Regions from separate parts of the Homo sapiens genome. Here all the other regions are linked to region 4. Evidence: promoter capture Hi-C in 16 types of primary human blood cells and fetal thymus (Javierre and others, 2016). All regions are on one chromosome and are shown on one strand. The core of a region is centred on a gene start or on the middle of the fragment in contact, and the rest is flanking DNA. Distances in the headings are between cores, read along the strand shown.

Region 1 (2,816 bases), core at 263-2,762, 330 kb after region 4:
AAACAAGACAACCACATAGGCCAGGAGGGCAAGTCCAAGTCTGCTCATTGGATTTGGTACATTACTACTGGAAGGGAGACCAACCTTGGAGACCAGGGTACTCCTTACCAGACGTGGCACTTCTCTCCAGCCTCAGGTGAGAGCAAGAGCAAGCCTGCATATCCCTTCTGCCACCATCTGGTCCTCAATCCTCAACTCCAGCAAGCAAATGCTTGGATGAGAATGCACACCCTGTCTCCCAAGAGCAAACAAGTGCGTTCAGGCCTGGGGCAGCCAAACTCTAAGTTTAGAAACAGATTTTGCTCCAACCCTGCAGGGGCATGTTCTACCAACAAACACAGTTTGCTTTAGGTTCCCTTTAGAATACTTAACTGCTCCATCTGCAGCTTCAGTATTTGAGCTTTCAGGGCATCCCCAAGAACCGTGGATAGTTATTTTGCTTATTTTCTTCTCACCAAGTGCTCACACCCAGAATCAAGGGATGGTCCTGCTCAAAGGTAAACTCCAGTCCCCTTCCCAGAAAACAGAAAATACATGTAACATTTTAAATGAGGGTTTTACAAGCTTTGGGGGAAAAACGTAGAAGCAGATTCTACTCCAGGAACCCTACTAAATATGCATTTATAATTTTGCATTCATTTAACAATATTTACCAAGCATCTGCTACATGCCAGACCTTCTTCAAGGTGCTGAGGACACAAGGGTAGGTAAAGCAAGCCAGGACACTGCAGACAGTCCCCAGCTTATGATGCTTTGATTTTTTCATTTTATGATGGTGAGAAAGCAATAGGCATTCAGTACATTCCTTGATTCACAATGGGGTCACATCCATATTGTAAATTGAGGAGCATCTGTATAGGGATTAGATTCTAGTGTGCATACGCATAGAAAAAAAGGCAAGAGAATATTTTTAAAGTGATAATGGTTATCCCTGAGGATGGCAATAATAGAGATCTTAATTGTTTTTTATGTTTTGCGTTGTTTGAAATTTTTCCAACTGGAAAAAAACTCACAGTATAGATGAATATTTATAGTTATGGGACTATACTCACAAGATATTGCTAAGTGAAAAGAACTGGCTACAGAAGAATATACAAAGTATATTTTTTGTAAATATATATTTACACTGTGTGTGTATCTGTTGCGATGAGTCATCTTGACTAAAGGGATTATGGAGGAATGTGCTGTTCAATTTTCTGTGTCTTTCTGCGTTTTGCAAGTGGTATGAATTGAACACTTATCGCTTTTATAAAAAGGGGGAAAATGGGTCGGGCATGGTGGCTCACACCTGTAATCCCAGCACTCTGGGGGGCCAAACTGGGGAGATCGCTTGAGCCCAGAAGTTCAAGACCAGCCTGGGCAACATGGTGAGACCCTGTCTCTACAAAAAAATACAAAAAAAAAAAAAAATAGCCAGGCATGATGGTGCACATCTGTGGTCCCAGCTACCTGGGAGGCTGAGGTGGGAGGATGACCTGAGCCCGGGAGGTCAAGCCTACAGTAAACCCTGATCATACCACTGCACTCCAGCCTGGGTGACAGAGTGAGACTCTGTCTCCAAAAAAAAAAAAGTCGGGGGAGTGGAGGGTGGGGAATGTCATTTAGCAACAGGAACTTCAACCTATTCCTAAATTATTCTATCCCTAAATTATTCTATCCCTTGGTCTACCAAAATACCTGAAAATTCTCCGTTAGAGTCAGTCATTTGGCTAAACGTTTCCTTCCCAGAGGCTCCTGCTACACTACTTAAGAGGAATAACACACTGGTCTCTGTCACTTGCAAAATGGAAACGTGAACAGGGAATCTGAAAATGAACTGTCACTTTGGAAAGCGAGGAGTCTGCCTGGCTCAGCAAGACACGGACAGACAGGGAAGGGCATGGGGAGTCCCAGTGGCGCATAAGGACTCTCTGCTCTGAAAGTGAGGAGGAGGAGACTGAAGAAAAATCAGATGAGACATGGGATAAGAAGGACCTCCATGCATGCCCCTCTCCCAACACCCAGCACCCACTCTGCAGCCAAGGGGTCAGAGCTGTCGAAGAGTGATGAGCAACCTGTTTACTAAAAAGAAAGAAAAACCTACTTATAAGAGGTTTTTATCTTAGTGAGCCGCTCTGCCTGAGTCTACAGAAATTATCAAGGGTGACATCACTCTCCCCAGTCACAACCCCAGGACTTAACATCCCAGCAACACCCAAAGGACTCACCCACCCACCTCCCTGTCATTGCAGCAGCAGAACTGTCAACCCTAAAAATGAGGATGGTTACGTGAGGAAATATGACTATCACTCCTCTCCAAGCTGTCAGCTAGAATATGAGCCTGGACCTAGACTAGTTGCAGCAGGGACCATGTTTAACAAGGGGCACGGTTGACTGCTGGGACTGCTTTAATATTCAATCCAGACCTCTGATGATGAGTTATTCATTAATGACCAACTGCCTCAAGGCTCCTGTTTTATTGAAAGCTTTACAAACCATCCAAGAAATGAGATATTGAGCTAAACATTTCATTCTTCCTCATTTCATCATTCATCCAACATTTTTTGCAAATACTTACCAGGGGCTAGGGACTGGGGGGTCCAGGTATAAGATTCTTTTGGGCTTGAACATATCTGAGGACACCTTGAATTTTTATAAAAATGTGTATTAGATTTTCTTAATTATGGAAGTAACGCATGCATTGCAATATGCTAAACAACAAAGTAAAGTAAAAAATCAATAATCTCTCCCACTCCATTCTAACTCCAACCCCTTGTAGTTAGCAATGTTAATAGATTGTTGTAGAGTTCCCTTCTCTATGCTTTTTTAAAAAAATG
Region 2 (2,700 bases), core at 110-2,609, 370 kb after region 4:
TGCTGTTCCCCCTGCAACACTCTTCCCTTCAGACATCCACATAACTCACCACCTCTATCACAAACCACTCCTCACCCTCTTCCCCACTTAATTTTTTCCACAGGGCTTGTCAGCCTCGAATATACCATATCATTTACCTATTTCGTTTAGTGTCTCTCTCCTCCACCAGAAAGTAAGCTGTGTGAGGGCAGGAATTGAGTCTGTTTTGTTTACTGCGGTTTCCCAGGGCCCAGGACGGGCTCTCAGTGGAAGCTTAAGTGAGCGTATTCTGTTGCAGTGCTTGGTACTATCACAAAACGCTCTCTCTAGAGGGAACACCAAGGCACAGCTGTAGCATGAAGTTGGTTAAGGTTTGGCAAAGTTTTCTGGGCACCCAGGTGAGAAGCCAAAACTGGAGGGGACGAGGAGGGACGAGCAGGGGGTTTTCAGGGGTTATCAGGCCAAATAACCAAGATGGGGAGCCTGGGCTGCCAAGTGGGCTATTACTTGTATTTTAGGGGGACACAGCCCCAAGGACAACACTGGGAAAGAGAGTGCCACCTTTTCTTCCAGTCACAGGGAAGACAACTGAACTATCCTCATGCTGCAGGCCAAAGAGATGCCTCCCATTTTCTGAACCTCTCACCTGGGAAGTAACCCATATTTTATTTAATCCTAGACCCAGATGTGCCAGAAATGATCAGAATTCCCAAGTGTCAGAGCTCCCTCCAAAGCCACCCCTTGCAGCATCTCAACCCTCTCCCAAAAATGGTTATCTGACCTGGAGCTGAGGACCCAGAGAGAGCTTGAGGGTCCCACTCTTCCTCCTCTGGCAGAGCCCACCGCAGGAGTGAGCCGTGGCTGGGCAGGGTGGGGCGGTAGACTCAGAGGTCTTTGCTCTGGGATCTGCAGAACATTTAGGGAGGCATCAGCTGCTGCTCCGCTTCCAAATAAAGCCCAGGTGCTTTTTCAAGCCTCTCTGAACCAGCACTTCTCAAACTTCATGTCAGCATTTCTTGAAGAGTTCCCAGGCCACAGATTCCTTGGGGTAGAAGAGAGGTAGAGGGAGAGACACTCATTTGGAACACCTTTTTGTATACCTCTGACTCCTAGAGTTATGGAAATATTTCACATGCCCAGAAAATCAATCAATAAATAATTAAAATCAACCAAGATGTGGGGGCTTCCCAAAGCGTGGTCTGTGGACCAGCAACTTCATTGGCCTCACCTGGGAGCTCGAACCCCTGGCCTTCATTTAAATTAATTAAATTTAGCCAGGCGTGGTGGTACACACCTATAGTCCTAGCTACTCAGGAGGCTGAGGCATGAGAATCACTGGAACCTGGGAGGCAGAGATTGCAGTGAGCTGTGATCGCACCACTGGGTGATCCAGCCTGGGCAACAGAGTGGGACTCTGCCTCAAAAAAAAAGAGCAAGAACTTTTTCTTTTGAAAAATTTAGACTCAAAAATTGAATACCTGGAGTTTTTCTGTGTCCTTTACCCAACGTTCCCTAATGTTGATATCTTGCATAACAACACAACAACTATCTAAACCAAGAAATGAACATTGGTGAATCTGTGGACATTCAAATTTCATCAGTTTTTTCCATTAATGAACACTTAATAAAAAAAACTAAATTTTTTTGACCATTTGCTGGTCCAGGATCCAATCCAGGATTCCACATTGCATGTAACTCTCCTACAGGACCATAATACAACCATCAAAATCAAGCAACGAACACTGATCTACTACCATGTTCTCCCCAGACCCCATTTAAGTTTCACCAATTGTTTTAATAAAGTTCTCTCTAGTAAAAGAATACAATTCAGAATCAGCCAAATACTTCATTGTCATATTTCCTCAGTGTCGTCCAATATGTAATAGTTTTGTCTTTTATGATCTCGATAACTTTTGAAAAGTACTGGCCTTTATTTTCTAGAATTTCATTCAACTTGAATTTGTCTGATGTTTTCTCATATTTAGCTTGAGTCACTGCACACCCAACATCAGAGACCAGTAAGCCACCAGCTGCCACGTGTTGAGCTGTATGTGTAGCAAAATCAGTTGTTTGCTGCCAAACCTATTTATGCCAGTTTCATTTGTAACTAGTTAAGTAGTATGTAGTAGGATTAAATAGGAGGGAAAGGCCAGGCACAGTGGCTCATGCCTGTAATCCCAGCACTGTGAGAGGCCAAGGTGGGAGGATCGCTTGAGCTCAGGAGTTTGAGACCAGCCTGGGCAACATGGTGAAACACTATCTCTACAAAAAATGCAAAAATTAGCCAGCATGGTGGTTCATGCCTGTGGTCCCAGGTTATCAGGAGGATGGCTGGAGCTCTAGAGGTCAAGGCTACAGTGAGCTGTGATTGCACCACTGCACTCCAGCCTGAGCAACAGAGTGAGACCCTGTCTAAAAAAAAGAAGGGAAAAAGAAAAGTTGTTTCTGTGAAAACTAAGTTAAGTGTTTCGAATAGCCCTGAGAAAAGCAAGCTTCTAAATAGAAATTGATGAAGAATTAGTTGTAAGATAAAGATGGAGGGGGAGGAAAATTATAAAAATCTGGAAGGGTTCTGTATGCTGCTTAGCCAGTGTCTTTAAATTCTCATTAAATTCAAAATGAACCAAAAAAGGAAATCACCTGATTCATGCAGGGAAGACAATGTGAGACTTCACCCAATTAACTCATTTGTTAATCAACCATTAACCCAATATTAATATT
Region 3 (2,700 bases), core at 198-2,697, 300 kb after region 4:
CAAGTGTTCTTATAAGAGAAAGGTAGAGAGGGGTTCAAGACAGACAGAAGAGAAGACACCAAGAGAAGAGGAGAAGGCAATGTGAAAACAGAGGCACAGACTGGAGTTACGCAGCCACAAGGCTGACAGCCATCAGAGGTGGAAAGAAGCAAGGAAGGCTTCTCCCCCAGAGCCTCGGAGTGCAGCCAACACCTTGATTTTGAACTTCTGCCTTCCAAAATTGGTAGGGAATACATTTGTGTGTGTATGTTAAACCACCAGTTTGTGGCAACTTGTTATAGCAGCCACAGAAAACTAATATAGAGGGGTCCCATGTTGGGCAGGACTGGCCGACCTCTATTACCCCGAAGTGCTGAGTCTTTGGCCGAGAGCATTTGGGAGAAGCACAGCTAGACCTGAACATTTGGGAGAAGCACAGCCAGACCTGGAGCCACCGATGCAGCAGCAAAAGGCAGTCAGTTGGCTGCCTTTGAGGGGGATCTGAGCGGCACACCTTTGGGGCCACCAAGAACCCAGCACCTACTATGCATCGACTATGTCTAGCACACAGTAGACACTCAGAAACTATTGTTAGATGTTGGCTGCAGAATGGATGAATGTTCTGTTTGGGTTCTCAAGGTAAAATCAGTGGATGAGAAGTACAGGGACATGGATTTCAACTTGGCATAATAATCATAGCCAACATTAGACAGAAACTACTATGTGCTATGCACACGTACCAAGACACATGTATCTATGTATATGTTGATGTATGTGTATGTGTGTATACAAACACATGTAGGTATATATGCACACAAACACACAGTCAAATAAGCTTAGACTTCATTTAAAATTTACAACAATCGTTTGAGGTAAGTTTTATTAGCCCCTTTGAGGAAACTGAGTATTTGCTAGGTGCCAGGTGCCTTGTTAAGACATTTCTCAGTACTTGCTCATTTAAATTACCTGACAAGTCTACAGGAAAGGTAGCATATTCTTTCCTTGTATTTTTAATTTTGAGACAGGGTCTTGCTCTGTTGCCCAGGCTGGAGTGCAGTGGCATGATCATGGCTCACTGCAGCCTCAAACTCCCAGGCCCAAGTGATCCTCCCACCTCAACCTCCCGAGTAGCTGCGACCACCGATGCACACCACCACACCTGGCTAATTTTTAAAAATTTCTGTAGACACAGGATCTCACTAGGTTACCCAGGTTGTCACCTGCATTGGTCTCCCAAAGTGCTGGAATAAAAGGAGTGAGACACTGCACCTGGTCACATTATTCTTATTTTATAAAGAAACAAAGCAATTATTTTATAAATAAATAAGACTCGAGGTCACACAGCTAGGTCAACCCAGTTCCGCCTCCAAAGCCCTGCTCCTAATCACGACTTCGTCCTGCCTCCCATGCACATGCGATGATTCTGTTCCAGGACTCCACAGGCCATAAGCCCACAGATACACCAAAAGGCATTGTGATTTTTTTTTTCCTTTTGCTGCCTGTGGTGTCTGAGATGGAAAGTATGCCAGCCCCTGCTTGGAGCAACCGCAGAAGCTCCAGAAGAATGCCCCCACCTTGCTCCTCTCAGGTTCTCTGTCTCAGACGTGGCGCCATCATTGACACTGTCCTCCCAAGCTAGTGTGTTCTGACAACTTGCTGGTAATGGGACGCCAGCGGCAAATTATTAGCCTCCTCCATCCCCACCGCACGCAGCCAGGCTTGGCTTGTTGCTGCCGAATGCCCGATACATGTCAGCTCTGTTTGGAAATTGGATCCAGTCTGGAAATTCACTCGATCACAGTGGGGATCTGAAGGGAACAGTTGAAACTCCCACCTGGATTCCTGCAACTGTCCTTCCTTGGGGCTTTGAAGGGGTCCCAGGCACAGTGAGGTGGGTTTCAGGCTTGAGAGGCTTCGCCCTGGAGGGAGGGCTGAAGGTCAGAGAAGGCAGAACTGAAGGAAGGAAGGTAGCTGGCATCCTGGGCCAGCCTCACCTGCACCACTGCTTGCCGTGTGACCTTGGGCAAGTCATTCACCTGCCCTGGGCAATGTAGTGTGGACCAGATGCTCAGACTGGTGTCAGACAAACACAGGAGGGAATTCAAGCTTGAACACCACCAGATGGATGACCTTGGGCAAGTTCTTTAACCTTTATAAGTCTCAGGTTATTCATCCATGAAATGGATATAAATAATAGCCCTTATTCATAGGGTGACTTTGAGCGTACTACGAGAAGGCATGCAATATGTTTGGCACAGTGCCCAGCACGTAGGAAGTGCTCCATCAATACAGCTGTTCTTAGTGAGATGAAATGGCTCACGCCTGTAATCTCAGCTGAGACAGGAGTATCGCTTGAGCCCAGGAGTTCAAGACCAGCCTGGCCAACATAGGGAAACTCTGTCTCTACAAAAAAAAAATTAAAAATTAGCCGGGTGTGGTGATGTACATATGTAGTCCCAACTACTCAGGAGGCTGAGGTGGGAGGATCTCTTGAGCCCCGGAGGCTGAGGCTACAGTGAGCCATGACTGCACCATTGCACTCCAGCCTGAGCAACAAAGCAGGACTGTCTCTAATAATAAACAAAAAGTTAAAAGTTAAAAAATACAACTATTCTTACCTGCATCACCATCACTAACTGTACTGGCATACATCTAATCCACCTGGCACACCCACTCCAGCGAATCACTCACATGGAGCATGAAATTTGGAACCGGGATCTA
Region 4 (2,701 bases), core at 202-2,701:
AGGGAGGGAGATGATTGACAGGAAGTGTACGGAACAAATGTGGAGGGCTTAACATGTGCTGCTGGGAACACCCACCCACTTTAATCAGTTTCATTCTCTTGTCAACATTAGAAGAAATCTTTAGTCCTATTTTACCGATTGGGCAACCAAGGCCAGAGAGGCTAAGTCATTTACTTTAGGACATACAGCTGGTAATTATGGAGTTAGGATTGCAAGATGCAGCAAAATAAAATAAAGGACATCCAATTATATTTGGGTTCTGAGTAAACAATGTAAAAAAAATAGTGAAAGTATATCCCATGTAAAATTTCAGACTTATACTAAAAATTTAACTGGGCATCCTGTATTTTACCTGGCAACTGTTGAGGAGATTCAAATTCAGTTCTCTTTGTTATTTCCCAGACACCCCTTACTATGGGACATATATAATACTGTAGAATATGTGATCAGTACCAGCAGATACTGGTTGAGTTCAGGCCTCAAGCTTTATATCTGCCATTTTGCTTGAAACCCTTTAATCCTTATATCACCTATCCAGTAGGTATTATCATTGTTCCCATTTTATGGATGAGGAAACTGAGGCTCCTTAAGATGAAATAACTTGGTCACGGTGACACAACCAGAAAGTACTAGAGCCCATGCTTGAACCCAGTTCTGTTTTGCTCAAGAATGGTCTCTCAAAAAAAAAAAAAAAAAAGAAACACAAAAAAACAAAAAACAGTTAAGATTTAACCCATGTACAGAAAAGCACTTGATATGTAAATGTACAGTACAACGACTTGTCACAAACACCTGTGCAGCCACCAGCCAGATCAAGAAAGAAAAGATGTCCAGCTCCCGTTAGATGCCCTGCCCCGTCATGAGAAGGGCTCTTCTGCCAGAGCTTCTCTGGGAATTCTTTGACTACGGGCATTACTGTCCCCATTTTACAGATGGGGACACAAAGGTTCAGAGAGGTGCTGTGACTTGCCCAAGGTCACAGAGATTGGAAAGCAACAGGCTCAGAGAGGGCGAGTGATCACCCAGAGGTTACACAGCTAAAACTTACCACCTGTTAAAACTACAAACTAAATACCAAAAACCGAAACTGCGCTTTATTGGGTGTTTACTATTTGTGAGGCACCGTGCTAAGCTTCTTGGTCGACAACAGTAGCAGCAGCAGCAAGCACTCTGCCATTTGGGGTGCATACTCCCCATGTCAGGCAGCTTGGCACTTTGCGTAATCCGCTCAGTGAATTTTTCCAGCGACCCTATGGTTTGGGCTTGGGTCTCGAACCCATTTTACAGAAGAGGACACTGAGGCCGGAAGGCTGAGGCCCCTGCCCGATATGCTCAGCCGGCCTGGCACCGGCTATGCCCGGCTCCCCGGGAGGCTGCGGGAGGGCCAGGTGGCATGCAAGGAGTTAAGCGGTAGGCAGTGCTGTGGCTCCGTGCGAGGAGCGCGCCGGGCTGAGGCGCGCTGCTGGTGGCGGCGGCGGCAGCGGCGCGGGAGCTAGGGCTGGAGACGTGAAGTCCAGGGGAGCGAGCAAGGCAGCCAAGGAGGCAGCGGCGAGGCAGCGAGAGAGAGCCAGGCGGCCGGAGCTCCGCGCCGAGCCGCAGCCGGTGCCCTGCGCGCACCGGGCCCGGGCATCTCCATCCCCGGGGCGGGTGCCCGCGCGGGGCCTCGCCGCGGCTCGGGGCACCCGCAGTGCCGCCCGCCCGAGCGCCAGGCTCACAGGAGCCCGGCTTTCACTTCCTCTCGCTTCCGCCCGCCTCCCTGGCTCGCCGGCTGGCGTCGCCACCGCCTCCTCGTCCCCGGCCACCGCTGTCGCCGCTGCTGCAATTCAAGGCGCACACTATCCCACTTTCCCGCTGGAGGCGCAGAGGATGCCCCTTGAGCCAGACCTGGAGAAATAGCCCCAGGGCCCGGCAGGAGGAGCCTTGGTGGCGAGAAAGGAAATCCAGGCTCCCCTTTCCTTAAAGCCACTGCAGCAGCTGGGAAGGCGCCCACAGAGCGGGCGCGCCAAGCGGGACGCGGGAGTCGCAGAGAGGGACCCCGGGCGCCTGCTGAGCTCAGCTGGCAGAGTTTGCAAGTGGCGGAGACCCTTCAGGTAAGGACTCAGGTGCCTGGACCTGGGAAGAGGGCTCCAGGAGGGAGCCGGGCGCGGAGCTGGTGCGAAATGTCTTCTGCCCCTAGATCTGGGCTTCGCTTTCCAGACGCTTCCCCGCAGGTTGGGGGCTCGTCGTCCAGAGCCCGGCGAGTGAGGAACCCAGAGTGGTGACAGCCCAGCTCTGCGTAGATGACAAACTTTCTCTCCTCTGGCAGAGGGTGGGACATTCCGGCTCATCCAGGCATCCTTCCTCTGGGCATTCCTGTGCCCCCTACAGGCATGCATTCAAGGGCTTCTCCCGCGGAGGTGGGCCAGCGGGGAGGCAGTGGGCCCCGTAAATTTGATTTATGAATCACCCTCTTTCTGGCCAGTGCAGAGTTCCAAGGGAGAGGGAGCTAGTCATATTTCCAAGTTGGCTGTAGAAGATGTTTCTTGGGGGTGATACTCTGGTGAATAAGGCTGCCTGTCATCTGATGCCAACAGCCAGAGCTGCCCAGGCAATGGGCTTTGTGTAGGGTGCCTTGCAGATTTGCTTATGTCCATTCTGGGGTGTGTGTGTGTGTGTGTGTGTGTGTGTGTGTGTGTGTGTGTGTGTAAAGAGAGAGAGGGAA
Region 5 (2,700 bases), core at 48-2,547, 350 kb after region 4:
GGTCCCCAGAGTCCCTGCATGCAGCAGCCTGACACGGCCCATCTTTGACTCCTTCTCCTCCAGGGCCAGGCTGTGACAAAGGTCAGGAGGCCGTGAAATTTCTCAGGGGAACAAATTTCCATTTCTGTCAACTGCATTTAGGCAGCTCCATCCAGAGAAAATAAAAACAAAGGGTCACGCTCCTTCCCCAATTTGGCACACTGTCCATTTTCACGGGGAGTCCACACCAGGAATGGCAAGATAGTGAGTCCTGAGCACTGGTTAATCTAATATTTTACTTTACAGTTATTAGAATTATGAAAAGCCAGCATTTGTTGGATAGGCTGCCCTGATTTCTTTTTTTTAAGTGATAAGGTCTGGCTCTGTTACTCAGGCTGGAGTGCAGTGGTGCAATCGCAGCTCACTGCAGCCTCGAACTCCTGAACTCAAGCCATTCTCCCACCTTGGCCTCCCTAGCAGATGAGACGACAGGCACACACCACCATGCCGTTAATTTTTAAATCTTTTTTAGAGATAGATCTTGACATGTTGCCCAGTCTGGTCTTGAACTCCTGGCCTCAAGCAATCCTCCTGCCTTGGCCTCCCAAAGTGCTGGGATTACAGGCATGAGCCACCACAACAGGCCTGATATTTTATTCTTGAAAGGAAGATTTCACACTAGTAGCAGTCACCTCATAAAAAAGATAATTTTTTTTTCTGGCCTGGCCTATTTCACCTCCTTATGGACAATTTTCCTAGCCAGAAAGAAAGAGATTTAAAAGGTGGATTTTTTTTTTCTAAGCATCCTGAACAGAAGCCAGAGACCTGGACTTCTCTCAGCTCTGGTCACAAGGAGAGGAGAGCAGGGATGGAAGCCACATTGAGAGTCCTGGGGTACCTGTGTGGTTGCCAATCCCAGTTGGGCCAATTACTATCTGTGTGTAACTTCAATGGTCCTCAGTTTCCCCACTTGTAAAATGAGGATACAAATAAAGTTGTCTGAGGATTGAATGAGAGTGAAGGCAAAGTGCCTCACATGCGGTAGGCATTCATTATGATGCAGAGTTTTCACACGTGGGGGTTATTTTGGCTTCTGACATCAGCGTCTTCCTTGTTTCTCTACAAGCCAATCAACACCCTTGCTTCAGGGCCACCTCCCCTGGGAAGCCCTCATTGACTTGATTTTCTCAGCCTGCAATCATCTTTGTCACCTGTGAATCTCTGTACACTACTTAAGGCTCAACTATAAACTCTAGATAAGTCTCTAGATTAGGCTTGATATAGGAGTTAAAAAGAAATTACTTAGGCAGATAGGGTACAGAAGTCCTCGGTAAGGTTTTCCTTTTAATGAAAATCAGCCCCAAATCATTTTCTTTTCTAACAAAGAGCAGCCTGTAAAATCGAGCGGCAGACATAGATGCCGGCCGTTGTGCCAATCATGTTCAAGATGGTGGCTCCATCTCCCCTTCTCTTTGTCAGACACGTGTACAGTAAGGAGCAGACAAGATGGCGCCAGCCAAGGGGAGGGGCCATTTGCATAGTAAGATTAGAGTGGGTTGGGCAGCCTTCCCCAAATGCTATGTAAACGTCACACCTGATCCAGCCAATCTGCGGTCCCTACCTAAATCAGACACCACCTCCACAAGCCTGCCTATAAAATCTGGCAAACTCCACTACAGGCGGGTCTTTCCTTTTGGAAGCCTCTCCCTCTCACTAGAGAGCTGTTCTGCTTTCTCTTTCTTTTGCCTACTAAACCTCTGCTCTTAAACTCCTCATGTGTGTCCGTGTCCTAAATGTTCTTGGCACAAGACAACGAATATCCCAAGTATTTACCCCAGACAAGGAAGTCACTTCAGTCTCACCTCCCCAGCTAGACCAGAAGTGTCTCTGGAGCAGGGCTAGGATCGCGGGGGAGGCTCTAGGCAAGAATCTCTGTGCCTCTTTCAGGTTCTGGTGGCTCTGAGTCCTGTGGCTTGTGACTGCATCACTCTAATCTCTGTCTCCATATTCACATGGCCTTCTATCTCTTATAAGGACACTTATTTTTTAGGGCCCACCTCAGTAATCCAGGGTGATCTCATTTCAAGATGCTTAATTTAATTACACCTAGAAAGGCCTTTTCTATAAGGTTGTTTTTACAAGTCCTGGGGGTTAGGACATGGACATACCTTTTTTCTCAGAGGGAAACACCATTCAACCTCTGTGGCTTCTCATAGCATCTTAAACCTTTCCATCACTCCTCTAACCCCAGCTGGCAATTTTATATTTATTTGTGAAACTATTTGGCAATGCCTGTATCCTTAGGAAGCTGCAGATAACAAGAGGACAAATTCCACATCTGCACTGCTCACCACTCTACCCCCAGCACACAGTAGGTGCCTAGAATGTGTTTGTGGAACAAACGGACAGCTGAGCCCGGAGCTCCTGGAGAATGCTTCTTGTCAAGGACACCATGCAGGCAGCCATGAGCAAGGCCTTCAGTGAGCAATGTGCTCAAGACTTTACGGCCTCGTAAATCCCATGGCTGGTGGCATGATTAGAACTAAGTAAAAATGCAAGCAATTTAATTTCCCAGTGCACAGCCTGCAGAGCCTTGTAAACTCACCCCCTAAACCAGTAGCCATAAACGTTTGATAAAACACCATGTGGCTTCCTGTTTCCCAGAAATAGTTCCTGGGCCCAAGGAAGAAGCGACATCCAGCCCCCACTTGAGGTTACGTG

What was found. Contacts are between HindIII fragments. The CHiCAGO score rates a contact against its expected background, and 5 or more counts as called.
Region 1: a contact is called between a fragment that was not itself captured here and the fragment with the promoter of WSCD2 in region 4, in 3 of 17 cell types (endothelial precursors, M0 macrophages and M2 macrophages). The highest score is 7.1, in endothelial precursors.
Region 2: a fragment that was not itself captured here is called in contact with the fragment with the promoter of WSCD2 in region 4 in 1 of 17 cell types (M0 macrophages); the score reaches 6.9 in M0 macrophages.
Region 3: a fragment that was not itself captured here is called in contact with the fragment with the promoter of WSCD2 in region 4 in 1 of 17 cell types (monocytes); the score reaches 5.2 in monocytes.
Region 5: a fragment that was not itself captured here is called in contact with the fragment with the promoter of WSCD2 in region 4 in 2 of 17 cell types (M1 macrophages and M0 macrophages); the score reaches 6.6 in M1 macrophages.

Annotation. Positions count from the first base shown.
Region 1 is chr12:108,459,073-108,461,888 of GRCh38, forward strand. LINC01498 (long intergenic non-protein coding RNA 1498) reads right to left here. Exons shown (of 4, transcript NR_120483.1): 3 at 2,558-2,622; 4 at 353-512. Among named protein-coding and RNA genes, the nearest start is that of LINC01498, 13 kb to the right of the region's middle. The HindIII fragment of the contact is 1,901 bases long and covers 563-2,463 here.
Region 2 is chr12:108,499,647-108,502,346 of GRCh38, forward strand. No RefSeq gene overlaps it. Among named protein-coding and RNA genes, the nearest start is that of FICD, 14 kb to the right of the region's middle. The HindIII fragment of the contact is 2,219 bases long and covers 251-2,469 here.
Region 3 is chr12:108,428,205-108,430,904 of GRCh38, forward strand. No RefSeq gene overlaps it. Among named protein-coding and RNA genes, the nearest start is that of LINC01498, 44 kb to the right of the region's middle. The HindIII fragment of the contact is 1,271 bases long and covers 813-2,083 here.
Region 4 is chr12:108,127,837-108,130,537 of GRCh38, forward strand. WSCD2 (WSC domain containing 2) reads left to right here and starts at 1,452. Exons shown (of 9, transcript NM_014653.4): 1 at 1,452-2,090. RefSeq lists a silencer at 1,673-1,762. The HindIII fragment of the contact is 4,828 bases long and covers 1,131-2,701 here.
Region 5 is chr12:108,476,293-108,478,992 of GRCh38, forward strand. No RefSeq gene overlaps it. Among named protein-coding and RNA genes, the nearest start is that of LINC01498, 4.0 kb to the left of the region's middle. The HindIII fragment of the contact is 7,107 bases long and covers 1-2,700 here.